Linked DNA regions of Homo sapiens: regions 2, 3 and 4 are each linked to region 1. Evidence: promoter capture Hi-C in 16 types of primary human blood cells and fetal thymus (Javierre and others, 2016). All regions are on one chromosome and are shown on one strand. The core of a region is centred on a gene start or on the middle of the fragment in contact, and the rest is flanking DNA. Distances in the headings are between cores, read along the strand shown.

What was found. The method cuts DNA at HindIII sites, captures the fragments that hold promoters and counts their contacts. A CHiCAGO score of 5 or more calls a contact.
Region 2: a fragment that was not itself captured here is called in contact with the fragment with the promoter of DYNLT5 in region 1 in 2 of 17 cell types (fetal thymus and naive CD8 T cells); the score reaches 5.8 in fetal thymus.
Region 3: a contact is called between a fragment that was not itself captured here and the fragment with the promoter of DYNLT5 in region 1, in 2 of 17 cell types (fetal thymus and activated CD4 T cells). The highest score is 7.4, in fetal thymus.
Region 4: a contact is called between a fragment that was not itself captured here and the fragment with the promoter of DYNLT5 in region 1, in 1 of 17 cell types (endothelial precursors). The highest score is 7.4, in endothelial precursors.

What each region holds. Positions count from the first base shown.
Region 1 is chr1:66,749,038-66,755,317 of GRCh38, reverse strand. It overlaps DYNLT5 (dynein light chain Tctex-type family member 5), which reads right to left and starts at 2,859. Exons shown (of 5, transcript NM_152665.3): 1 at 2,734-2,859; 2 at 541-662. The coding sequence starts at 659. SGIP1 (SH3GL interacting endocytic adaptor 1) reads right to left here. Exons shown (of 25, transcript NM_032291.4): 25 at 4,179-6,280. The HindIII fragment of the contact is 3,147 bases long and covers 373-3,519 here.
Region 2 is chr1:67,188,408-67,194,687 of GRCh38, reverse strand. All of the region lies in intron 4 of IL23R (interleukin 23 receptor), which reads right to left. Among named protein-coding and RNA genes, the nearest start is that of IL23R, 25 kb to the right of the region's middle. The HindIII fragment of the contact is 1,921 bases long and covers 2,589-4,509 here.
Region 3 is chr1:67,113,498-67,119,777 of GRCh38, reverse strand. It overlaps C1orf141 (chromosome 1 open reading frame 141), which reads left to right. Exons shown (of 8, transcript NM_001276351.2): 5 at 4,314-4,426. Among named protein-coding and RNA genes, the nearest start is that of C1orf141, 18 kb to the left of the region's middle. The HindIII fragment of the contact is 4,606 bases long and covers 1,144-5,749 here.
Region 4 is chr1:66,449,422-66,455,701 of GRCh38, reverse strand. No RefSeq gene overlaps it. Among named protein-coding and RNA genes, the nearest start is that of SGIP1, 82 kb to the left of the region's middle. The HindIII fragment of the contact is 2,879 bases long and covers 1,907-4,785 here.

The DNA of each region.
Region 1 (6,280 bases), core at 1,610-4,109:
TGACCAAGCACAGACATATAGTAAAAAAGAAAAAAAATGGAAACAAACTTAAAGTGTCCAATAATTAGAGAATGGTTAAGGAACCCAGAATCATAAATTGACAAAATATTATGCAGTCATTTAAGAGGATATGGAAAAAACTATGAAAATACATGACAAAATTATATACAATAATGTTAAGTACATTGTATATGTATGTATTGATTACAAAAATGCAAAACCTATGTTATAAAATATTGAGGAGAAGAACTCAAAAGACATATAAGCGTGTCTGGTTTACATTGCATGTGGTGTTTCTTTTGAGCAGAGGGTTTTTTGGGATGATTTTTGAAATAGCAAAAATGCTGCTAGGATTAACTTATCACTTAAGCTTTCTCTCTTTCTCTTTCTTTTTAAATATGGCCCCTAAAGATGACCTGCACCTTGTACTTGCCCATTTTATCTCTTTTTATGTCCCCGAGGAAGTGTTTTTTTCTCCTAATAAACATTACGAACCTATTTATTCAATAAATGAATTTACAATTTTAGACAGTTACTCACTCTTTGATGCGCCCATGAATTTCCTTTCGCCAAAATTCATGATTACTTAGAGAAGAAATACTCCCTCTTTTCTTCCATGAATGAGCTGCTCTGCCTTTAGCATTGTCTGACATCATCATAACCTATGGAAGAAGACTTTTGTAAAATAGCAAAAGAAAGATCCGGAAACATTTTAGTTAGTATAACAGGGACTAATCTCAAAGTACACAGATAGTTTTCCTACCATTTTTGAACAGGAAAGTGGGGTTTCCTCAAGAGCAATATATAGAATTTGTTGTTATTCTGATCAGTGAAACTGGAACTATGATAACTCTGAAAATGCTTATTTATGCAATAGTATAATTATTTACATAAGCAGATATTAAGCTATAGCAAAAATGCTTAGCTGATGAAGACGGAGGTCATTGACAAAAGATATGCATGTATAGCAGAAAGATGCTATCCTACATCAGAAACCAATATTTGTATTGCCCCCCAAATGTAACCATAATACAACTTTGCTAATTAATATTTGCTGTCACTGTTATATTTTATTTTTGAGACAGGGTCTTGTTCTGTCACCCAGGTTGGAGTGCAGTGGCATGATCATGGCTCACTACTGCCCCAAACACCTGGGCTCAAGCGTTCCTCCCAACTCAGCCACCTGAGTAGCTGGGACTGCAGGTGTATGCCATCAAGCTGGGCTAATTTTTAATTTTTTGTAGAGATAGGGTCTATGTTGCCCAGGCTGGTCTTGAACTCCTGGGATCAAGCAATCCTGCTTCAGCCTCCCAAAGTGCTGGGATTACAGGCATGAGCCACTCTACCTGGCCTATTTTATTATTTTAGAGACAGGATCTAGCTCTTGTTACCCAGGCTGGAGTGCAGTGGCATGATCATAGCTCACCGTAACTTCAAACTCCTGGGCTCAAGCGGTCCACCCACCTCAGCCTCCCTAGTAGCTAGGACTACAGGCCTGCACCACCATGCCTAGCTAATTTTTAAACATTTTTGTAGAGACAAGATCTTTCTGTGTTGCCCAGGCTGGCCTTAATCTCCTGGCCTTAAGTGATCCTCCTGCCTTGGCCTCCCAAAGTGCTGGAATTACAGGCATCAACCACTGTGCCTGACCCACCATGACTTTAAAAAATAAAATTAGGGGTAGGGAGCTAGAAAATAAATAAATAAATAAAAATTAAAATTAACCTTGCTTTCCCAAAGATTTTTTGTTGTTTGTTTTGTTTTCTCGAGCAACATTTACATAGTTTGTAAAGAGCAAATAGGACTTAACTTTTAAATAAATAATTTATTGGAAAACTCCCTCCTTCCTACTAATACTTGTTAAAAAGCTGGTAGTAGCAATGGACTTCCCAGAACTTGGACTATAACTCTAATAATGCCCTCATTGTCTACCTACAAATTTAAGTATTCATTTAAATTATTTCATAATCTATAAATGTGAGAGCCCCGATAAGGAAATACTGTGCTAGACACCAAAGCATAAAAATAGAAGAGAATCCATGCCTTCAAGGAGCTGGCAGTTGAGTAGGTAGGGCACACAAGAACATACCCTAAAACCCAGTGGCATCAATGTCAGAGCAGAGGTGCTGTGTGTGGGTGAGGCAGGCAGCGTGGTGTGTGTGTGCACGTGAGTGTGAGCGTCCTTGAGTGTGTACCTGTGAGTGTGCATCTCTGTGTGTGCAGGTGCCTGTGTGTATAAGTGTGTCTGTGTTCGTGTGTACGAAGGTGAGTGTGTTTATGAGTGTGGAAAGACACACAGCCTGATTAGGTGGGTCATTCAGGTTTTGCTGCAAAGCCACATAGACCCATCTCGGCCTCAGCTGTTTCCAAAGCTGCCCTGCAGGCCGCCCCCTCCCCAAGAAAGGCCAGAGTTGGGACCTGGAGGTCCTCATGGGTGCGGCCAGCCACAGGAAGACCGCCCCGGGTCAGGGGATGACCTTGCTGGCCGGCTCTGCGTTGGCCATCACTCTTGAAGCCCAGCCCCCAGCCATGCAATGGGGCAGGGGACGAACCGTTGGGACCGACTTTCAGTTCCCAAATTTGGGATCATTTTTTCTTATGTGTTGGGGAGAGGAGGAATAAGGTGGCGGAGAGATCGGGGCCAAGTAGGGCCATTTCTCAACAAAGGGCCGATCCCTTGCCCCCTATCCTTCCTTTGGGGTCCAGACGCGCTGCAGAGAGAGGCGACCCTACCTGCAGCAGGGAGGCTTCGCCCGGAGCCTCCCAGACCTCCGGCACTGCAGACACTGCGCGCGGCGCGGCTCCCGCGTCCCAGGCTTCATTCAGCCGGCGGCCGCCCGCGCACTCTCCCTGGACTCTGAGGCCGGTCTCCAGGGTGACCTCAAACAGAGCCCTCGGCCCTCCCCGGCCGGACTTGGCCGCTGAGTGGCCCTCTGAGCTGCCCTAAGGATGTAGAGGATCTCATCTTCACTGCCCACTGGGGGTCACTCTGAGCCGGGCTGCGTCCTGGGTTGGCGGCGAGCTGGAGGGGAACTGGTTCATTGTGTAGCGAGGAAGACATTTGGGACTAAAGACATTTGCACCCCTAGGGCCCCTCATCAAGTTCCTTTTCCCGCAGACATCAGGGGCAGGAGTGGGAAGTGCTGCGGTTTCCTAGCACAGGAAATCCGAAGCGCAAAGACAAAGTAAAGTAGCCCTGCCCTTTTCCCGGCTCCTAACGCTGCTTCGCACGTTCCCCCTCCAAGGCACAGGCGGTGGAATGTGGAGGTAAATGAGCACTTACATTGGCCAGATACCCCAGATACCGACAAACATTGGGATTTAGTCGTCCCAATAACTCTGTCAAGAAAGGAATGTTTTCCCTTTAAAGGATTTGGAAAATTGAGATTCTAAAATGTTAAATAATATGCCCAAGGCCCCTGAAACTCATGGTCTTAACTCCAATGTGTTACAAACCGGGCTGGGTTCCTTCGCTTTCCTTAACAAGACTCTTCTGAGCCTGTTAATGTCTAAGAAGCTTTGAAATGAGGCTGTTTGGGGTTGAGGACCTACCTGCTGGTATGAATGGGCTTTTCCTCTTCTTCAGCGACTATCCCCAGCCTAAGCCTGGTTTGGGCCTCCCCAAACCAAAAGCAAACAAAATAAACACTATAGGGACCCTCCTGTAGTGGGCAATCATTGGAAGCAGAAACAAGATGCCTCCAAGCATCTAGCCAAGGGCATGGCTCTTGATGAGTGTCCTGCTGGAATTAGCATTAGCTGACAGTAATACATTGGGATTCCGGTGGAGCACAGTGTTAGGATAGTGTTGGAAGAAGAGAAATAGATATTTTTGCCCATCCCAATCTCTACTCACAGAAAGATAAGAACAGGAAAGGATTGTTGATTGAATATCTACTATGGACTAGATAGGAACTGCTAGGTGATGAATAAACATTATCTCATTGAATTTGTTCAGTGACTATGACATAGGGGACATTACTCTATTTTTTTTTAAGATAAGGAAATGTAGAATCGTTGAGTAACATGCTCAAGTCGATATTTAAATCACAGAGCTGAAATTTGTCTAACTCTTAACCCTTGACCTTTGACAGACCTTTGGCCCACCATCCCTACCCTAAACATGGAATGAAGTTTTCCAGAAATGCGGGTAAAATTTTAAGAGGCTGACAGCAAAAGATATTCACAATTCAATTTATTTTCATATTTTTCATTTATTTTCCAGAAAAAGAAATCACATTTCAGTAACAACTTACATATAGAATTAAACTTTGTTCTGGAATGGGAGCCCTAGTTGCAGTAACGTGTCATAATAAATAATTGCATATTCAGGATTTTGTGAAATAGGTGATTGGGAAAATTATGAACAAAAAACATTTACAAAAATTATTATTTACAAAGAGTGATATCCATACTATTTCTAACTTATAAGGCAAGTAATGTTAAGATGGTCTCATGATTATCTTCAACAAGTCAATTACACACTTTCCTGTCACCATTGCCCAGCAGAGAGCTTTGCTGCAATTCTGTGAAGGAGCAAGTAAGTCTTCGCTTCCGTTGTTGGTTTTCTCTTGAGCACAGCATAGAAGCAGTAAAGCTTTCATTACAGACTAAGCAGTAATGGCTGTCAGAAAAAAGTATACTCTTTTGAAATAGACGTGTAGGAAAAAGGCTGGGAATCAACATTTTGACTAAATTTTGAAAGTATCTTGAGTATTTTAATTCACAGTTTTGTAAGTATTTTATGCCCAAGGTATTTTTGTGAAATTATGTACTTAGTACAAGATTAAAAAGAAATTTAGTGTATTTTTGCTACATAGATCAAAGAGAGCTCTAAATAAAGGCTACCACCAAATCAAATTACACACAGCATTTTCCTTAATTGACAGGATTTCATTACCTATAGAAACACAGCAAAATCTTTCTGAGATTCCTAGATTCTTGCATTGTTCAAGTTTAAAAAAAATCAATGCCTTACATGGCCACTTAGTAAGAATGAAAATTAATATCCGAGTATTTAATTCATATGATCTTTTACTATACAAGTGAAAAACAAACAAAAACTCTTTTTAATCGAAAACAATAGTGTTCAAACAGCTTAAAAAGCCAGCTGTATACATTACTGCTTGGCCTGTGGTGAAGCTCTGTTCATAGATAAGATTAATATATCATCATATCAACACTTGGCTTTTTCAAGAAAAATTATTCAGCAGCAATTTTCCAATTCCCCTTAGACAGAGAGGAAAGAGACACACACACACACACACACACACACACACACCCCCACACACACACAGAGAAAGAGAGAGAGAGAGAGAGAGAATATGAATTAGATAGGAGCCAATCTCTTTCATGTATGTCCATTTAACAAAGCAAGAACTAAATTCTGACCTGAAAAATCAACACAGCTATATGAATTATCATTCTAGCAACTTGAAAAGGGAAAAAAATCTGACTTTGGATCTTGGGACAGTGGTTCTTGTGATAGTTACTTGTTGTATGATTTAAAATACCTTAGAGTGATGGTGAATGAATAACATCAAGCATTTACTTTGCGAGAAAAAAAATTCATAAAAGTAATGTAAAACTGAATGAGCGAGATGGAATTAACATTTGTATGATATACTCATTCAATGGAACGTTTAAAAATTATAAATGGCTTATGATCTATCAGGCTGATTCACAAACTCTGGATGGATTAAAAACTGAACTATCTTTAGAGAAATGTAAAGTGATTCAGTTTGATTCTTTTCTATATGATAACAGACAATTTAACCAGGAAGTTTTTAAAGAAACTTCGTTAATTTGGTATAAAAGTAACTGATTGGCAAAGTAAAGCAAAGCAAAAAAAGAAAAAAAAACAGCAAAAAAAAAACCCTATGAAATGCTCATTAAAAGAGTATAGAATCTCACAAAATCTGTGCTAAACAGTGCACTGCTCTTAGCTTTCCCCAAAGTGTTTTTAATATAATTTCTGACAAGCTGATGTAAAAATACTGTCAACATTGATCTATCATGATTCAGTTTCCTAAAGCTGTTTAGTAAAACGTTACTGGAGATTATTCACTGGCATTAATTCCACACGGCAAAGAATTGGAAACATCTTCAACAGATAGGGGTCTGATATGCTGGTCATAGGTGCAAGCCTTAAAAATAATACAAAAATTAAAATAATTTTATTGTTTTGTTTTGAATATTTTAGATGATAAAGTTAAATTCACTAAGAGATACTAATGAAATTTAAAATAGATAACAATTCATTTGAAATGACAGGAATTCT
Region 2 (6,280 bases), core at 2,300-4,799, 440 kb before region 1:
TTTACCACACATACTGAGACCACAAGTCAAAATGGAAATGTATTTTCAAACTGACAGTAACCATAGTTACTAAGTAATTTAATTCTGCTTTTAAAGTCTACCCCATATTAGCACCTAGACCACAAAGCACTGTTTTAATTGAAGAATCTGATAATAATGACTAATTACACCTTAGGGTTATTTTTATATAGAACTTGTGATATTGTGACATAATAAGAAATATATATTTGGTTTCTGTCTGGTTCCCAGCACACAGCTCCTAAAACCCTTGGAATCTCCAAAGTGCTAATGAGATGGCTGATGGCTGGGGGCTCCTGGATAGGCTTAGGGTAGGGGCTGGTTGCCAGGGGAACCAACAATGTGATGAGAAGATTGAAACTTTCAGTCCCCCCAACCCCCTTGCCCTTTACCCACCCCCATCTCCTGGGAAGAGAGAAGGGCTGAATGATCCCCAATGGCCAATGATATGATGAACCGTGCTTATGTAATGAAGCCTCCATAAGAACCCAAAAGGACTGGGTTCAGGGAGCTTCCAGATATCTGAACATATGAGGATGCCTGCAGGGTGGTGTTCCCGCATGCTTTGCCCCATGCATCTCTTCCATCTGGCTGTTCATCTGTAGCCTTTGTTATATTCTTTATAATAAATGGATAAATATAAGTAAAGTGTCTTCCTGAGTTCTATGAGACACTCTAGCAAGTTAATCAAACCTGAGGAGTGTATCGTGGAAACCACAATTTTTAGCCGGTTGGTCAAAAGCACAGGTCATGACCTGGGGCTTGTGATTGACATTTAAAACAGGGTTGAGTCTTGTGGGACTGAGCCTTTAGCTGTGGGATCTGATGCTACCTCCAGGTAGACAGAGTCAGAATTGAATTAAATTAGAGGACATCTAGCTGATGTCTGCAGGAGAATTGATTGGTGTGTGGGGAAAATCTTCCCACATTTCGTGTCAGGAGTGCTGTTGAGAGTAGAAAGGAGAACAACACTTTGGTTTTTCCTCTATCTTTTACATAACTGTATATTACAAAGTTTTTGAATATCTTATTTCTATTTCTTTTTTTCATGGGCTAATACATGACAGATGATTTGTGAAGGGAGTTAGTATAATTCATATTTTTCTGATGTTCCCTGAGCACCTAGATATAGTTGTAATTTATAGATTTTCAAAAAACATTGCAGATTTATGTTGATAATGGTAAATAGTGTCTTTCATTCATTTAATCACTCATTCAATAAATATTTATTTAACACTGACTATATTCCAAGTATATTTTTAGATATTGGGGCTACAATGAACAAAACAGATAAAGTCCCAACTGTCATGAAGCACACATTTTGGTGGAAACAAATAAATATAGAATCTGATCTATGTATGGTGAGAAATGTTCAGAAGAAAACTAAAGCGGAGTAAAAAGGTTAGGCAGTTCTGAGAGTAGGGGTGGGTTTTAAGGTTTTTGTTTTTTAGAGAGATGAGGAAAGTCTTATCTGAGAGGGTGACATTAGGGCAATAAGGAAACCCTGTGGCTCTCTGGAGGAAGAGCATTCTAGGTAACATGCAAAGGCCCTGAGGCAGGACCTTGCTTGGCCTGTTCAAAGAGCAGCAAGGAGGTCAGTGAGGTTTTACTAGGAAAGGGATTAAAGACAAAATCAGAGAGTTTTGGAAGAGGGGAAAGTTTAGAAGACTTGCAAGGTCACATAGAGTCCTTGAGGGACTCTGGCTTTGATCTCTGAATGAAATGGGAGGTTCATGAGCAGAAGGGTGACATGGCCTGAGGTGCATGTGAAAAGGATTACTGTGAAAACTCATGAATAAGGGACTCTGGAGGAAGCGAGTGGACCAGTTAGAAGTTCTTATACTCCCAAGTGAGAGATGATCTGGCTTGGATTGCAGTGTAGGTGGTGAGGTCATTTTAAAAGATAGAGCCGGAAGGTTTTGCTGATCAATTAGATGAAGGCCATAATAGAGAGGAATCCAGGAGAATCTACCTGATTTTGACCTGAATAATGCAAAGGATACAGTTGCCATTTACTGAAATGGAAAATGCAAGTCTTGGGAGAGGAAACTGGGTGTTTGGTTTTGAAAATGTTAACTTCAAGATACCTTGAATGACAGGTTAGAAACATGGCAGCTGTATTTGGTGGAGATATTTAGACACAGATATACATTGAGGAATTTTAAACCACAAATTTGAAGGCTATCCTTTAGGTAATGACTGTAAATAGAGATAATAAAAGGTCCTAGGTGTGAAAGTTGCACATACCAGGATGAAATCACTTTTGTCAGACCCAGACAAAATAGGGCAAGAAAGGCCTGAAGGAGAAGAGGCCCATGCTTACATGTCTGAGATAAGAACTGTTCCCAAGGACTTTCTAAAAACCTTTCAGTCATCCCCTGCTTTGATAAGGTTTATCACTAGACATCCTTTAGGACTGCAGTAATCCAGATAAGATGTTTTTGGAAGACCGCTTACCCAGTAATACATCTCCACTTATTAATTGACAATCACTCTGGCTTTGAGCCTCTGGAACTAATGAACTCTGTTCCTAAATAGCTCACATATATTCCTTTTTGGTAATAAAAGCTTCCCTTTATCCTTTCCCTCACCAAATGCACTGCTGGCTTGCCATGTCATGCATTCTGTATTATACTCCTTATTTATATTCTCAAGTAAACCCAACAAATTTGAAGATAATCTTCCCTAGTGTCTTTTTTTAGGCTGACAAAATATAGAGCTCTGGGTCACTATGAATTTATCTGAAATGAAGATGAATCAGCAAAAGAGACTGAGATAAAGTTTCCAGGAAGGTGGGAGGAGCAGCAAAAGGGAGTCCTGTCCTGGAAGCCAAATGGAGGAAGTGAAGAGCTACATTAAATGCTCGGATAGTAAATGTTTCATAAGTAAGATAAAGACTGAGAATAAGCCATTCAATCTGGCAATGGGGAAATCATCAGTGACTTTGACAGGAGCTGTTTCAGTGGAGTGGTGAGGACATAAAACATGACTAAACTAGATAAAAGAGAAGAGAGAAAATAGAGACAGACAGTGCAGACAACTCTTTTGATTTTTTTTCATAAAAAGAAACAGAGAAATTGGGTGGTAGAGGTCAGGAACAAAGGGAGGGTTATATTTTTCAAAAGGGCAAAGGCTACAGCATGCTTAAAAGCCAATGGGAATGATCCAGTAAAGACAGAGACAATGACAATGCAGAAGGAAGAGAGGAAAGTTTTGGAGCAGTGTCCTCCAGTAGGCAGGCAGGATAAGATCTAGTACCCAAGTGGAGAGTTGACCTTAGGGCAATGGTAATTCATCCATAGCAATAGCAGGAAAGATCAACTATATGGGTACAGATGTCAATGCATTAGTCAATGAGGGAGGCTGTGGTATTTCTCATTGCTTCTGTTTTCTCAGGAAAGTAGGAAGCAGGTCTTCAATAGAGAGTGAGGAAGGGAAGATACTAGAGAGGAGAGATGACAGAAAAAGTAATGAAGCAATGACCTGGCTTAGCAAGACAGTGACTTGGCTAGTGAAATGTAGTAGGATTACTGTGTGGCTCTCCGGGCCCAGTTGAGGTTAGTGGTCATGAATATAAAGCAGTATCAGTCAGCAAGGTTCTGTTTGTCTCCAGCCACAATTAGCTCTCTGGGCTCATAATCAGTGAGGAAATGGATTCTAAAATATAAACTACATTTTGAGTCCTAAAGGAATTACTGAAACCTAACGTAGCCTTAAAAATAGTATTTGGAATCACACCTAAGAACTCTTTCTGGTTATTAAAAATATGCATGTAGAGAAGCTGTGGCAAAAACAAACAGGCCTTATGAATTAGCAGAGTAGGCCGCTGAATTTAAGGGCTCTAACATGATACTGCATCTGAAAACATTTGCCTTATTGGTCTTCTACGGTGCGTGAAAATCCCAACATTGATGTTATTCTAAACTGTTTATGAGCTTGTCATGCACAGAGATGATCTCTTTTTTTTAAATATCTACAGTTTAATACAATTCCAGGAAACCATCAAATGCTAAATAAATATTTGCTAAGATGACTTGAATGGAACAGAATGCAGGGCTATCATTCATGCATTTTTATTCAACAAATATTTATGGAGTAGAATACACTGAGCCAGACATTACCAGTGTTTCCAAGATAAATAAAAAATATATTTACATGAAATTGCTGAAGATAGTGGGACTACAGTAGGGAGATGGTTATTAGCACTGGTTTTGTTTTTTTTTTGGTTTTTTTTTTTCCCTATCATTACCCTTTGAAACAGCAAAATACAGGAGGTAAAAGAAGGTATGTGAACAGCCAGGAGGCTCTGTCTGGTGAGGCCACCGCAAAGGAGCTGGGAAGAAAGAAAGCTCTTGAAGCAAAACAGACAAAATTCTACTTTACAACTTCACCCCAACATGAGGAGGCCTGTGATGGCACCTATGTTGCCATAGGGGAAACACTGCCTTTCTGCAACTGGAGAAATGAGTAGGTGGTCTCAGGTAAAAAGCTTCTCTCTACATGTGATTTTACTGGAAAACTGAACCACATGAGTTAGAAGTGAAACCTTGCACATGCTGATCTCTGCCTAGTTACCAATGTGGAAAATACCCTAATAACTGAACGTTTAGAAGAGCTCCTTTAAACATAATACTACCTCGACCACAACATTCATTATAAGTCAGCTTTCTCCTTGAGGGAAAGATTTTTTCTGGTAGTTAGGGAAATTGACTTGCTCTTTTCTTTCTTTTTTTTTGAGACAGGGTCTGGCTAAGTCGCCCAGGCTGGAGTACAGTGGCTCACTGCAACCTCTGCCTCCTGGGTTCAAGCCATCTTCCCAAGTAGCTTGGACTCCAGGCACCCGCCAACACGCCTGGCTAGTTTTTGTATTTTTTGTAGAAATTTTTATATTTTTTGTATTTTTCGCCATGTTGCCCAGGTTGGTCTCAAACTCCTGAGCTCAAGCAATCCACCTGCCTCAGCCTCCCAAAGTGCTGGGATTACAGGCATGAGCCACTGCGCCCAGCCCTCTTCTCTAATTTTTTTCAACTCATTAGTTTGTTTGTAACTAATCATTAGATAAATAGGTGTTTGTTTCCTTTTCTGACCTGTCTATATTTATAAGTTAGTCCTTTGACTTTTCTAGAGGAGAACATTCACTTTTATTCTAACCTTTTATATCTTTTATGTCCTGTTTAGAATGTAATAAAATCCCATTAATCTGGCCTCCATCAATTCAGAACTTGGTTAGGTTTATCAGAGTTTGGTTATAGTTTATTGTTGGATTTTAAGAAAGAAGATGGGAAAAATAATTTATAAAATATATATGACCTTATATTATTACTTAACTAGACAGTGAAGGGGAGATTCAGGAAATGTCTATTTCTAGTTATCAACTAGAATAATTACTCAACAAATATTTATTGAGCATTTACTATGTGTCAGGCCCCATTCTAGATTCAATCAACATAGCAATGAAAAAATCAAACAAAAATTCTTGCCCACATTAAGCCTACATTCTAGTTTGAATGAATAAATGTACTATTGACATACAAAAAATAAGTCTTTCTATTAGAGCACATGCAACATCTCTTTCTAGATTTTTCCAAAATTATTGTATTACTTAAAAATATATGAATAAAATTATCTATAATATCCTATAAATAATAATTTTTATGGCTTTACATTAATATTTCCCTCAATCAAATCGGTCAGGTTTCCCTTAGGCCATAATATTATAATATCCTTTGCTATAGTCTGAATATTAGTGTACCCTCAAAATTTACATGTTGAAACTTAAACCCCAATGTAATAGTATTAAGAGGTGGGGCCTTTAGAAAGTGGTTAAGTCATGAGGGCTTTTCCCTCATGAATCAATTTAGTGCCCCTATAAAAGAGGTTGAAGGGAGCTGCCTGGCCCCTTCTACTATGTGAGAACATATAGAAGTCACCATCTATGAAGAACAGACCTTCAAAATCTGTTGACACTTGATCTGGGACTTCCTAGCCTCCAGAACTGTGAGCAACGAATTTCTGTTTTTTACAAATTACGCAGTCTAGGTGCTTTGTCATAGTCACCTGAAGGGACTAAGACATCATTTTGTGTTGTACTTAATTCTAAGCATTTCCTATATGCAAGTCACTTCCTATAATTTGCTTTTTTATAAGCTTTGTGGCATTAATTATCCTCATTTCACAGGAGGCTGAGGCTCAGCAAGGCTAAATAACTCTTCTAAGATTACACAGCTAGCAACTATGGCAGATACTGTTGGATGACGGTATC
Region 3 (6,280 bases), core at 2,197-4,696, 360 kb before region 1:
TCCTGTAGAATCTAAGAAGTTCAACAGTTTTCTTTCATTTTTTCCCACTTTCTCTGTTTCCCTTAGTCCCAGCTGGCAGTGTTTCTGCTGGTATAATCCCATCTCTATTCCTGGCTTCTGTTGAGATGGCTGATTTGGTCCTTGTTACACATCCACACTGACCTACCTATCAAACAGTCAACTTACTATACCTTTAGTGTTCTCTCCCAAGCATACTTTTTCATTCTTTTGTAATATGAGCAGGCTGAAAATTTTTCAAATCTTTAACTTCTGGTTCCTTTTTCCTTAATAATTTCATCTTCAATTCATTTCTTTCCTCTTGCATTTTACTATAAACATCAGTAGGAACCAAATCACTCCTCAACACTTTGCTTAGAACTAACGTCAGCTAACTATCCAATTTCATTGCCTGCAAGTTCTGCATTCCACAAAATACTAAAACACAAACACAATTAAGCCAAGTTCTTTGACATTTTATAACAAGCACCACCTTTCCTCCAGTTTCCAATAACATGTTATTTACTTCCATCTGAGATCTCATCAGAATGGCCCTTACCATCCATATTTCTACCAACATTTTGTTCATCATTATTTATGGAGTCTCTAAGAAAATGGAAGCTTTTCTCTTTTCTTTTTAAGCCCTCACCAAAGTCACCTTTAAAATCTCCTTCATGGCAATGTCAGCATTTTCTAGCATGCACTTCCAAACTCTTCCAGCCTCTACCCATTAACAAATTCCAAAGCCACTGCCACATATTCAAGTACTTGTTACAGCAGCACCCCACTGCTCATTACTAATTTCTGTCTTAGTATGGGCTGCTACAACAGCACACCATAGCCTGGGTGGCTTAAACAACAGAAATTTGTTTCTCACAATTCTCGAGGCCAGGAAGTCCAAGATCAAAGTTCCAGCAGATTGGGTGTCTGGTGAGGGTATTCTTCCTGGTTTGCAGACAGCTGTTTCTTTGTATCTTCACGTCATGAGGAGATAGAGAGAAAGGCAAATACAGAGACAGGGAGAGAAGGAGTTAGACCAACTCTTCTTAGAAGAACACAAATCCTTTTCATGAGGCTATACCCTCATAACCTAATTATCTCCCAAAGCTCCCACTTCCAAATACCATAACGTTAGAGATTTAAGCTTCAGCATTTGAATTTGAGGGGGATACAAACATTCAGTCCCCAGCATTTCCCCAGAAACTCAAGTATCCTGGCCATGCCAAACAGTGTGGTGCAGGGTGTCTACTTTACTTGCTTATTCCACTCACTCCAAATTTGACATGGGGCAAATCAGCAAGTGTGGTGTCTAACAGATGTGCAACTGAGGAATAAGATGCCAGTCTCTATGAGTGATTCTTTGGGAACTCCCTCATCAGTTTTGTGGAGGAAGCATCCCTGCCCCTCCCACATTGAGAAAAGAGGAAAAAGCCACAGCAGACCCTAACAGGTCAATGACTCACAATTCTGATATTTTTCTTTTTTCCCCCACCAGTTTTCTTTTATTTGAAGGCCTAAAAGAATCTCTTGCTCCAAGTATTGGTGGATCTTTGTAGAATACAGAGTATGTATTGCTCCTTTTTACTCAGCTGTGGAGTAAAAAGTCACCTGGTCACCAATTCTAAGGCAACGGAATAATTGCCACTCAACAACTTATTTTAACAAAATGAAATCCAACACTATATTAAATAAATATTACTCCACTATGACTAAGTGGAGTAAATTTCAGGAATAAGAAAGAGTATCCTCATTTATCTCTATGACATTTTGTTGATCACTTTCTAAACTTTATTTTACTTAATTCTTACAACAATCCCTTGAGATAACTATTAACCTTATTTGACACATGAAGGACTGAGATTCAGAGTATTCAATATTCTATGGAAGTTCACATAGAGTCAAGATGCAAAGTAAGGTCTAACTTCAAAGCCTATGCTCTTTGGTTCACCACAAGGAAATTCATATCTGAATATCTTTATATACTCTGCAAATGAATTTGAAAAACATACTTTAGCAATATAAGTATTTTTAAGATAAGGATAAAATATTACCTCCTTAACAAGACTATATAGCCAGCATCATCCTTAGAAACCCTTGACTCATTCTCATTCAAGTTAGAAACAGAACAATGCCCATTCTCACTAGTATACTACACTCTCCTAGAAGTCCTCCCCAATGATATTAATAAGAACATAAGATACATTTTTTGAAAGGAACAGATAAATTGTTTTACGGAGATTACATAATTATTTTTAAAAGAGAGAACAAACTGAAAACCCATTAAAAAGTACGATGATAAGAAAGTTCAATAAAAATTTACCAAAAATCTTATGCATTCAATAATTTTTTTTTTCTTTCGAGACAGAATCTCTCTCTGTCACCCAGGCTGGAGTGCAGTGGCACGATCTCAGCTCACTGCAACCTCTGCCTCCTGGATTCAAGCAATTCTCCTGCCTCAGCCTCCCGAGTAGCTGGGACTAGAGGCACATGCCACCACACCCAGCTAATTTTTGTATTTTTAGTAGAGATGGGGTTTCGCCATGTTGGCCAGGCTGGTCTTGAACTACTGACCTCAGGTAATCCACCCCCCTCAGCCTCTCAAAGTGTTGGGATTACAGGCATTAGCCACCGCGCCCGGCCTATTAGGCATTCAATGAATATTAAACATGTACTATGTACCAGTCATGCTATAGGTGCTAAAATACCACAGTGAATAAAACACATAAATAGTGTGCCCTCAGAGTTTACAATCTAGGATAAGATGGGGAGAGAGATAATAAACTAAATAAACAAATGAATATATAATATAAATTTACCAGTGATGAATTCTATAAAGGAAAATATAGTAAATTAAGGGAATTAAAATCAACAGGGATTACTATTTTAGATGGGGGAAGTGGGGTGGGCTGGAAAGTTCTTTCTGAAGAGGTGGAAATGTGAGTGGAGACTGAAATGAAAGAGTAGGCCACGTCAACCCCTTGTGGGGAGAATACTACAGGCAGAGGAAAGAGCAAGGTCCTTAAGTGGAGCCTAAATTCCTTTCCCTGAACCAAACAGGTAGAAAATTTGCTCAGCGTTCATGTGGAGCTGAGAGGTGAAGGGGTATGCAGAGAGAGGCCTGGAGTGGCATTCAGTGGAAATTCTGCTACTTAGAAATGAGAACTGGGGGAAAAGTTTCTGTCTGTTAGGGAGCATTTTGAATTTTAATCAAGTCTGATAGGAAACAGTTGAAGGAAATGATAGTCACATTTGTATTTTACAAGTGTTGCTATGGCTGTATTGCGAAGAGAATGTTGAGGACAAGTGTAATAGCAGGGAGAGCAAACAGAAGAAGGCTAGAGACATAGGGAAGGGGTTCAGATGAAAAATAAAGGGGTCTTGGATTTGGTTGGGAGCAATGAGGAAAGAGGTGTTTGGATTTGGAATCTATTTCAAAGAAAGACACAGTATTTGCTGATAGGTTGGGAGTGGAAAAAGAGAGAAAGAGAAATAAAAGATTTCTGCAAACTTTTTGGCCTAACCCTCTGGTTGAATGGAGATGGGGAAACCTGGGTGAGGAGAAGATCAGGAAGGGGATGGTGGAATCAATAATTTGGTTTTGAATATGTTAAGTTCAAGATACTTATAATTAAGCTAAGTGCAGGAGTCATGTGGGCAGTTGGATATATAAATCTGAAGTTCAGAGAAGAGGTTAGAGTCTGGACTATAAATTTGGGACATTGGCCTATAGACAACAGTTACAGTGTGGGACTGGCTTATACCAACTAAGGGTGAGTATCTGAGGTCTGAGGGCTGAGTCATGGGTTGTTCTAGCATTTAGAGGTCAGAAAGAGTATCAATTATGTAATACTATTAATTTTCTAATATACCATCACTAGCCAGTTAAGTAATTTAGAGGAGGATAATTTGTCTTTACAATAAATAAATGCTGTGATCCTTTCTAGTACCTGAATTCCCTAACTCTATGTCCCACCACTTTGATTCAGGTCCAGTAATGTCCTCAATGTCTCACTGAAGTTATTTCCAGCATATTTTTCTGAAAGGGTTAATCAGCTTGTGAATAAGTTTCTTGGAGTGCCCTCAATGCTATCACAGCAGCAAGTAGTTTTCTGTCCCCCTCCACTTTAAACGACTAAAACTAATATTTTCAGCTCCTATTTAATCAGTCCAATGTTTCACACTTGGTACTGTGACAACATTAACATAACATCCAAGTCTGTATAACTAGGACTTCACATTCCTCCAAATTTATTTTTTAGATTTATTTTGTAATTTTTCTCATTATTTTAATTTAAATTAATTTTTATTTCTTCCAGGCATGTCTCTTTCAAATGTGAGCCTGAACCTAGAAAGAGTAATTTTGAAAAGTCAAATTTAAGACCATTCTTTATTCAAACAAATGTAAAAAATAAAGAAAGTGAGTCAACAGGTAATGCTTTGTGTAACATATTTACTTCTTTGATTTATTAATGGGTGCTTTATTTATTTTATTATTTACCGATGTGTGTCTTAAAGGTTCTTGATAATTTGATCTCTGTCAAAAGCATTTCCATGAACTATAAAAAAGAACTTACTAAGAAGAAGAGATGTTAAATATCAGAATGGACAATTTATACAATTCACAAAATAGGAATATATTTTTATGTTTATAGTGTTATGTGTTGTTTTCTTCTAGAAAGAAAATCTCTGAGTTTCCTTTCAGCTCAATGCTGAGAATTTCCTTGTTATTGTTTTTTAGAAGTCAAGTATGAACAGCTTGCTTAATAGAAACTTACTTTCAAGTTAGAAATTTTAGGAATCTGGCTGGGTGGGCACGCTGGCTTACGCCTCTAATCCCAGCACTTTGGGAGGCCGAGGCGGGTGGATCCCCTGAGGTCAGGAGTTCGAGACCAGCCTGGCCAACATGGCGAAACCCCGTCTCTATTAAACGTACAAAAATTAGCCGGGCATGGTGGTGCGTGCCTGTAATCCCAGCTACTCAGGAGACTAGGCAGAAGAATCGCTTGAACCCAGGAGGCAGAGGCTGCAGTGAGCTGAGATCGTGCCACTGCACTCCAGCCTGGGTGACAAGAGCGAGACTCCATCTCAAAATAAAAAAGAAATTTTAGGAGTCCGTGAGCTAGGAATCAGCATTATCAGTTCTCAGAGAATTTGAGCTTTTCGTGTTGCCTTCGTTTTTCTCTTTCTCTCCATTATCAAACAATCATTCAATTGCATAATTCTCATCAACCTTCTTAACTGAGGTTTCTTGACTCCACATCACCCCCTATTGCTTAATTTCTCTATTATGCTTCATAACTTGATTTCTCAAAGGATTTGTTATACACATTGTTATTTTATTTCTCATGATTCACTTTCATAATGTCATATTTCCTTATGTGTCTTATTATCTTTGAATGTGTGCTGGACGGTATTTGGAAAATTATTTATAGGAACAATTTGAGAACTAGGGTGATGATACGTTACTCCAGAAAAGATTTTTTTTTTTTTTATTGTTTATGCCAGGTATATGGAGGCAGTACTTGTCAGAACATACTAAAGCATTCAAGGCTTCACTTTCCCTAAAACATCCAGGTGGCAATCTTAACTATTCTAGTTCACCCTAAGGTTGTAACCCTTTTGGATCCCAGGTAAAATGAATAGGTGTGGGGGTTTTTTGTGTGTGGGGGAAGGGAACTGGAGAACATTTAAATATCAAAACTTTGGACCTTTGGTCAGCTTTTTGTTTTTTTCTATCTCAAGCCATGAAGCTTCCAAAACTTGATCTTACCTTCACATCACAAATACTCTCAGGGAAAAAGTGGCTTGGCATGTTGGGCTTCCCTATCTGAGTTCTTATCTTCTCCTAGATTTAAGACCAGGGATCCCTTATCATCTTTTAAGTCAATGATTCTCTTTAGACTTTAAAAAATATTCAATCTAGCCTTTTAAGGTGTTTTCAGCAGGAGGGCTGTTACTAATCACCTGGCCTTCCATAATGGTAGCAAAAATCTCTAATCCATTTTCTTTCCTTAAATCATATAGTGATCTTTTAAAAGTAGGCTGATCCTGATTAAAGCCTCTTCAGCGGATTCTCATTGTACTTAGTATGAAACTTGTACTTCTTACAAAGACCTGGCCGGGCACGGTGGCTCATGGCTGTAATCCCAGCACTTTGAGATGCCAAGGCAAGTGGATCACTTGAGGTCAAGAGTTTGAGGCCAGCCTGACCAACATGGCGAAACCCTGTCTGTACTAAAAATACAAAATTAGCCGGGCATGGTAGTACACACCTGTCATCCCA
Region 4 (6,280 bases), core at 2,097-4,596, 300 kb after region 1:
AAGTTCAGAGTTGTTCATTAATTCCAGGGTTTAACTCTCACACTCCTTTTGCACTCCTGTTCCAATCCTCGTGCTTTCACTCCACAGTTTGGCATTCGCCTCTTCTTTCACATCTAGCATCTGAGACATTTCTTTTAGGAAATTATTCCACTGCTGTTTCTCAAAATTCACATTTCTATTACTTAGGTGTCCTTGGTGTCCTTCAATCTTTTTGCTGGAATTTCTACATAGTTAAGTTTATATATTTTTTCTTTAGGGAAACAAGCTTTCTGGGTATTACTTTAGCATGTTAATTCATCTATGAAAAGAATGGCCAGCATCCCTCAAATCCCCAATGCACACAATAAAAAGCATCCAGAGTTCTTCCTTTGGAATCAAAGAGAACATTCACAAGAAATTAATATTGTTTTCTTTTCATGATTCGGATAAGCCTTTGGTCTATATTCCTTTAAGAAACTGACTACAAGAGCAAGGGAACTTCTTGCTAATTGAAGAGATTTTCTTTCTCATTATAGGTTTAGACTACACTGCTTCCACCCATAATTCCTCCAGATTAATGAGTTTTCTTAGAATGTATGCATACAGCAGGTAAGAATATTCAAGCCACATACTTAGACATATAGGAAATTTTTTTTTTCCTCTTGAACTAAACATGGCTTTTTCCTTAAGTTCCTACTCCATCAGTAATGGGATGCAACATTGCCAATTAAGAGTAAAGTTTGTCATACCCGGTATTCTTAGGTGATTCAGGAAAAATGCTGTCCCTTTATACTTTTTCCCAATTTTTTTTCCCTCTGCTATGGCATTTAGGTTTCTGGGGGCTCTCAGAGTCTCCTGACAATAGCATAATGGGGGAATTGCCCTGGCCTCCAGGCACCGTCAGCTCCTTTACTTTCCAGCGTCACATCCACGATTCTCTAGGCTGCACCAGAAGCACGGTGCTCCTCTCAATGCTCTGACAGCCAGTGAAGGAGCTCAGAGTCTGCCTCTGGCCCTTGGGCCTGGAAGTCTCAGACAGTGTCTCCTCTCTACTCCCAAAACCATGATGACATAGGGAATGGGTGCTTGCTGCCTCCCAGTACACAAGAGAAGCAGAGCACAGGACTCCATCCATGACTCCAAAATCCCCAATTTTCTCTAAGTGCATTCACCACCTTGGAGTTAAACCCACGGAGGACAGGGATCAGCATCTGCTTTTCAAAAGCCCTCACCAGTTTCTCTGTTGAATTCCTTGGAACTCTCTCTCCTCAACTCAGAATTATTTTAATATCCCCTCAATGCCTGTGCTTATTTATGTGTGTGTGTGCGTGTGTGTGTGTGAGAGAGAGAGAGAGAGAGATGGGTGAAGAATGAGACGATAAGGTGGAGAGAAAGACGACTAGAAGAGTATTCTTACAGAGCTATAATTTATACCAGGACTTCAGTATATAAATTTGCATATATCTGTATAGCTTAATGTGCCAGACTTTGAGAGCATGCAATGCACAAAGCGGGGTAAAGGGGGACCTCTGCCGCCCCATTCTATCCCAGGCTACAGCAGAGACACACCATCCTGGAAAGCAAATTATGACTTGGAGTGCTGGGTGGAGAGAGGAAAGGCCTACAATTTTAGGGTAGCTTCTGACAAGGACAGTCCTTAGAGAGGCAATGGAAGTTTCTTACACTTGCTCTCTGAAATAGGAGGGGGCTTAGCAGGAATCTAGTCATTCATTCATTTAATCAATAAATAATTACTGAGCACCTCCTCTGTGCTAGCTCTTATTCCTTTCTCCATGAATTGTAGTAAGAGCCTAATGAAGAGATTTGCTTAGAAAGTGAGAGATGTACACTGAGCAGTAAAACTTAGAGGTGAGCACCATTGTCCCCAAAAGAACCGAGAAATACTGATAATGGTTTACCAAAAGCTTGCTACTGCCAGGCACTGTTGTAAAAGATTCACCAACCTTTCATGGACTCTAAGATGCATCCTTTGTAAGATGTATTATTATTTTATGAGCCACTAAGAAAGAAAAAAACTGTGGCCAATTAAATATGAGCCATGCTTTCTTGTCACTTTGAATTTTTATTTGTTCTTATTGAAAAATGATCCTTATTTGGATGTAATTTTAAAAATTAGAGATCATACTTGTTCACACATAAAAAGGAAAATATAAGTAAAATAAATTATTTAATCAATTTCTAAGCCTTCTTTACATTTGGAGTCTGCCCATTCTCAATCAGTTTTGACAGAATTGCCAAAGTCCGGGTTTGTCTACATAATGATGTCAGAGCCATGAAGAGACTCATACTGTCATATTTTTTACCAATACTTCACTCCGGGATTCCAGTTCCAGAATTTTCTTCCAAGCTGCTGACACCCATTTCCCAGTTTTGATACTTGAGCATCTTAGATCTGACTACAGGGTGTCACACAAAATGTTTTCCAACAATCAGGCTTCATGTTTCTTCCTCAAATGGTCCTTAATGGTTTGTGGCACAGAGCAGATGCAAATGTGTCATGCCACCTGGGACAGCAACTGTCTTAGCTCCTAAGCAATCATTAACCACTTTATCAGGACTGCTGCATGCCCATCAGTGAGTGTAAGCCCTATTCATTCTAAGAAGTTCTTGATCTTGAGATGTCAAAATGTAGGGAAAAAATACGGCCTTATGATTGACGATATACTGCTAAACCATTTAATCCTCGCAACACCATGAAGCAATTACTCTCATCTCCATTTTACAGATAGGAAAGTCAAGACATAGAAAGTTCTGGAAACTTCACACAGAACCAGGATTTTGACCTCAAGCAGTCTGGCTTTGGAGCCCCTCATCACATGGTTCTATCACCAATTCATGTCTGTGCTTAAGGGTCACTTCTCGGGGGATGCTTTCCCTGGACACCTAAACCAGGGTAGCCCCCTTTCCTCTCTAGATTGTAAACTCCATGAGGTCAGAGGCCCTCACTGTTGTATCCAACTATTTATAATAATGTCTGAGACTTAGTAGGCTCTATTTGATGTTTCTACACATCCTGGGGGAAGGAGGAGGCTAATAACAGGGCCCAGGGCATATATAGACTGAAAATACACAGGGACTTACCATTGTTTCTTGTGATCATTATGATAATAGAATAATTTGAAAAAAAATACATTGCAAGGAATCAGCCCATTCAAAATGCATTCACATCTGGCTCTCTCCATAAGCCCATCAGCTCCTTATACCTAAGGACCCATCATCCCTTTTTCAATGGCCCATCACATCCAACCTGTTGATGAGAGAAAGCCTAATGTCAGAATATGCTTCCCCTTGTGGTCAGACCCAGCTGGTCTGGTCCAGTCAAGATATTTATTTAAGATGCACAACACTGATTTTCAGGGAGGCCTCTGTTTGCTAACAGATTGAAGGAAAAGGGCTTCTTGGATTAAACAATGTGATATTTACTAAACAAACACTTCCCCCAAAGGTTAAACTTGTTCCTGTCTACATTGTTTGCCTTCCTGATTAGAAACAACGGCAATAAGACAGAATATGCCTTTTTAAAAATCTTCTTTACTTTGGTACTAGTAAAAACTGTTGGGCTGGGCACCATGGCTCACACCTGTAATTCCAGTGCTTTGGGAGGCTGACGTGGGAGGATTGCTTAAGGCCAGGAGTTCAAGACCAGCCTGGGCAACATAGTGAGACTCAGTCTCTACCAAACAACATAATTAATGAATAAATAAAAATAAAGAACTGTGTTAGCATCCACCCACAGAGACATACTAGGTTTTTCAGGCTGTCAGTCTTTATAGCAGGCACTGCCTTTTTTTTTTTTTCACTACTAAAATACTATTGCTTCCATTACTAAACATCAGTCTGTTCTTTAAAAAATATTTTTGCTTTCCTTAATTTGATGTAGATTCAGCTGGAAACGGGCTAGCTTCATCCTGTTCATCAACTCAAAAGGGAATCCTCAGGTGATTATAACCTACTGTTCCAAAGCAAAACTCATAATGAGATTATGAAGAACAAATAGAGGCACAACATCTTCATGTCTTTGGCAGGAAGAAAAAAGCGAATTACTAAGGACGTTTTAAAAACCTATATTGTGTAAAGCAATATTCTACGTGTTTTACAATAGTAACAAAGTTAATCTTTAAAATAACCCTAGGGGCTCTGATGTAACCGGCCCAATGAACTTCTGTTACTTGCCCAGATCACAGGCTGGGATGTGGGGAGCTTAACTGTGGGCTCTGGCAGGGTGTCTCCAGCACCCAACTTCTTTTTGTTTTGTGTGTATGTTTCATAACCTGCTTATATTTGCTTACACATTCTTTAAATATATGTGTACACAAAGCCACATGGGTATTTTCAGAGGAGCACATGGAACATTATACACATGTAAGTAACACAGTCATTGCCTCAGGGGCTTTTTTCTCAGGTGGCAAATCTGTTGCCTCTCAGAGGCTCTCAGTTACCCTCTCACTACCTTTTCCCAGATAAAAAGTGTACCCTGAAGTGAACCAGGCTCTGGAATGTTCCTGAACCTCCTTCCTCACCTCAGAAAGAACTGCCCTCTTAAGGGTCTAATTTATTGGAAAAATAATACATCCTAAAATGTTAATAATTTCTTATAAGTTAGTATCATAACCTTCCCAGATAACATATCTTTAAATCCATAATATGCAACCTTAATGAAGAGAAATTTAATTAGGTTGATAAGGAAGCTATTTTCTGTCAAGTAGATTATACGGCTCCCTTCTCTTAACCAAAAGGCCTTGGATATACTTGACATCAAGTTAAAATGAACTGGAAAGTCAAGCTTGTGCAGAGTAGGAAAAAAAAAATGAAAAAATGTAGCAATAGATACTTTTAGATTAGGCAGGTACTCTTAGCTAAAATTGTGTATCTTTTCTGAGCCTCTTAGCCTGAGACTGAAATAGATGCAAATGTTATCTCCTGCATCAGAAACAATCAGTTAACTAGAACCTAGTATATCCTGAGCTAAATTAGGTTTTTTACTAGGTACTAAATATAATGTGAGAGAGAAACGAATGTTAGGTTGACATGGTGCTTCCCAAAGCTTGCTTTGTTTAAATGGCATGTTTTGGTCCACTGACAAGGTGATTCTTTTTTCTCTGTCTTTAAATTTGTTAAAAAAAATTTTTTCTGACAGTGAAAACAAAAATAATAGCTCTCTCCTGCTAAGTATTTACTCTGCAATAGGCACAAGCACAGCCCTTCACAGTAATCCTCACAAAAGGTCTATGGAGTGAGTATTCTTGTCCTCACTTTACAGATAAGAAAACAGGGTGCTCAAAATAGCCACTAGCTTGTTCAAGTTTACGTAGCTAATTGGTAGCAGAGCCAAGATTTAAACCAAACACCCATGTACTGTGTTGGATAGTGTCCCCTAAAAGTCATGTGCTTCCCAGAACCTCCAAATATGACTGTATTTGGAAATAAGGTTGTTGCAAATGTAATTAAGTTAACATATAATTAAGATGAGGTCATGCTGGAGTAGGGTGGGTCCCTAATCCAATAAGGCTGGTATCCTTGTTAGAGGAGAGGAGACACAGAGACCCAGACACACAGGGAGATGCTGTGTAATGACGCAGGAGGCAGAGGTTAGAGTGATGAAGATTACTGGTAACTCCAGAAACTAGGAGACAGACATGGAACAGATTTTCCCCGAGAGGCTTCACAGAGAGTGTGGCCCTGCCAACAACTTGATTTTAGATTTCTAGTCTTCAGAACTGTGAGACATTAAATATGCCCGTGGTTCTAAGCCACCCAGTTTGTGGTATTTTGTTACAGTAGCTCTAAAAAACTGTTGGAGCTCAGGACAAATCACCCCTAAATATTCCTCTTGGGCATGCTATTTATTAGCAGATTATTTTGAGAAACTAGATGCAAGAGCGCTCTGAATAGCTACCCTTTTGTAAAATAAATGTGCATCTCTAAGGAAAATTTTTATTAATAAAGATATCTGTATTAAGGAAAGAGCTGCTCCTGAGACAACTCTTACCACCTGAGAGATCCTTATCTGTATAATGAGACCACATTTATTCACTGTACATTTCCCCCCCCTCATCCTTCCATAACTTGTCCCCACTACTCCTTAGGAGCCCCAAACCCCTCTTTCTGTCTGTAGCTCAGGATTCCATAATATATAAGCATCAATCATTCAGCTCTTCTTTGAGTCTCATATTTTTGTGGGACTCCTGTGCATACATACACAATTCAAATTATTTTTCACCTGTTAATATGCCTTATGTCAATTTAATTCATGGCTCAGCCAAAGAACCTGAAGGGTACA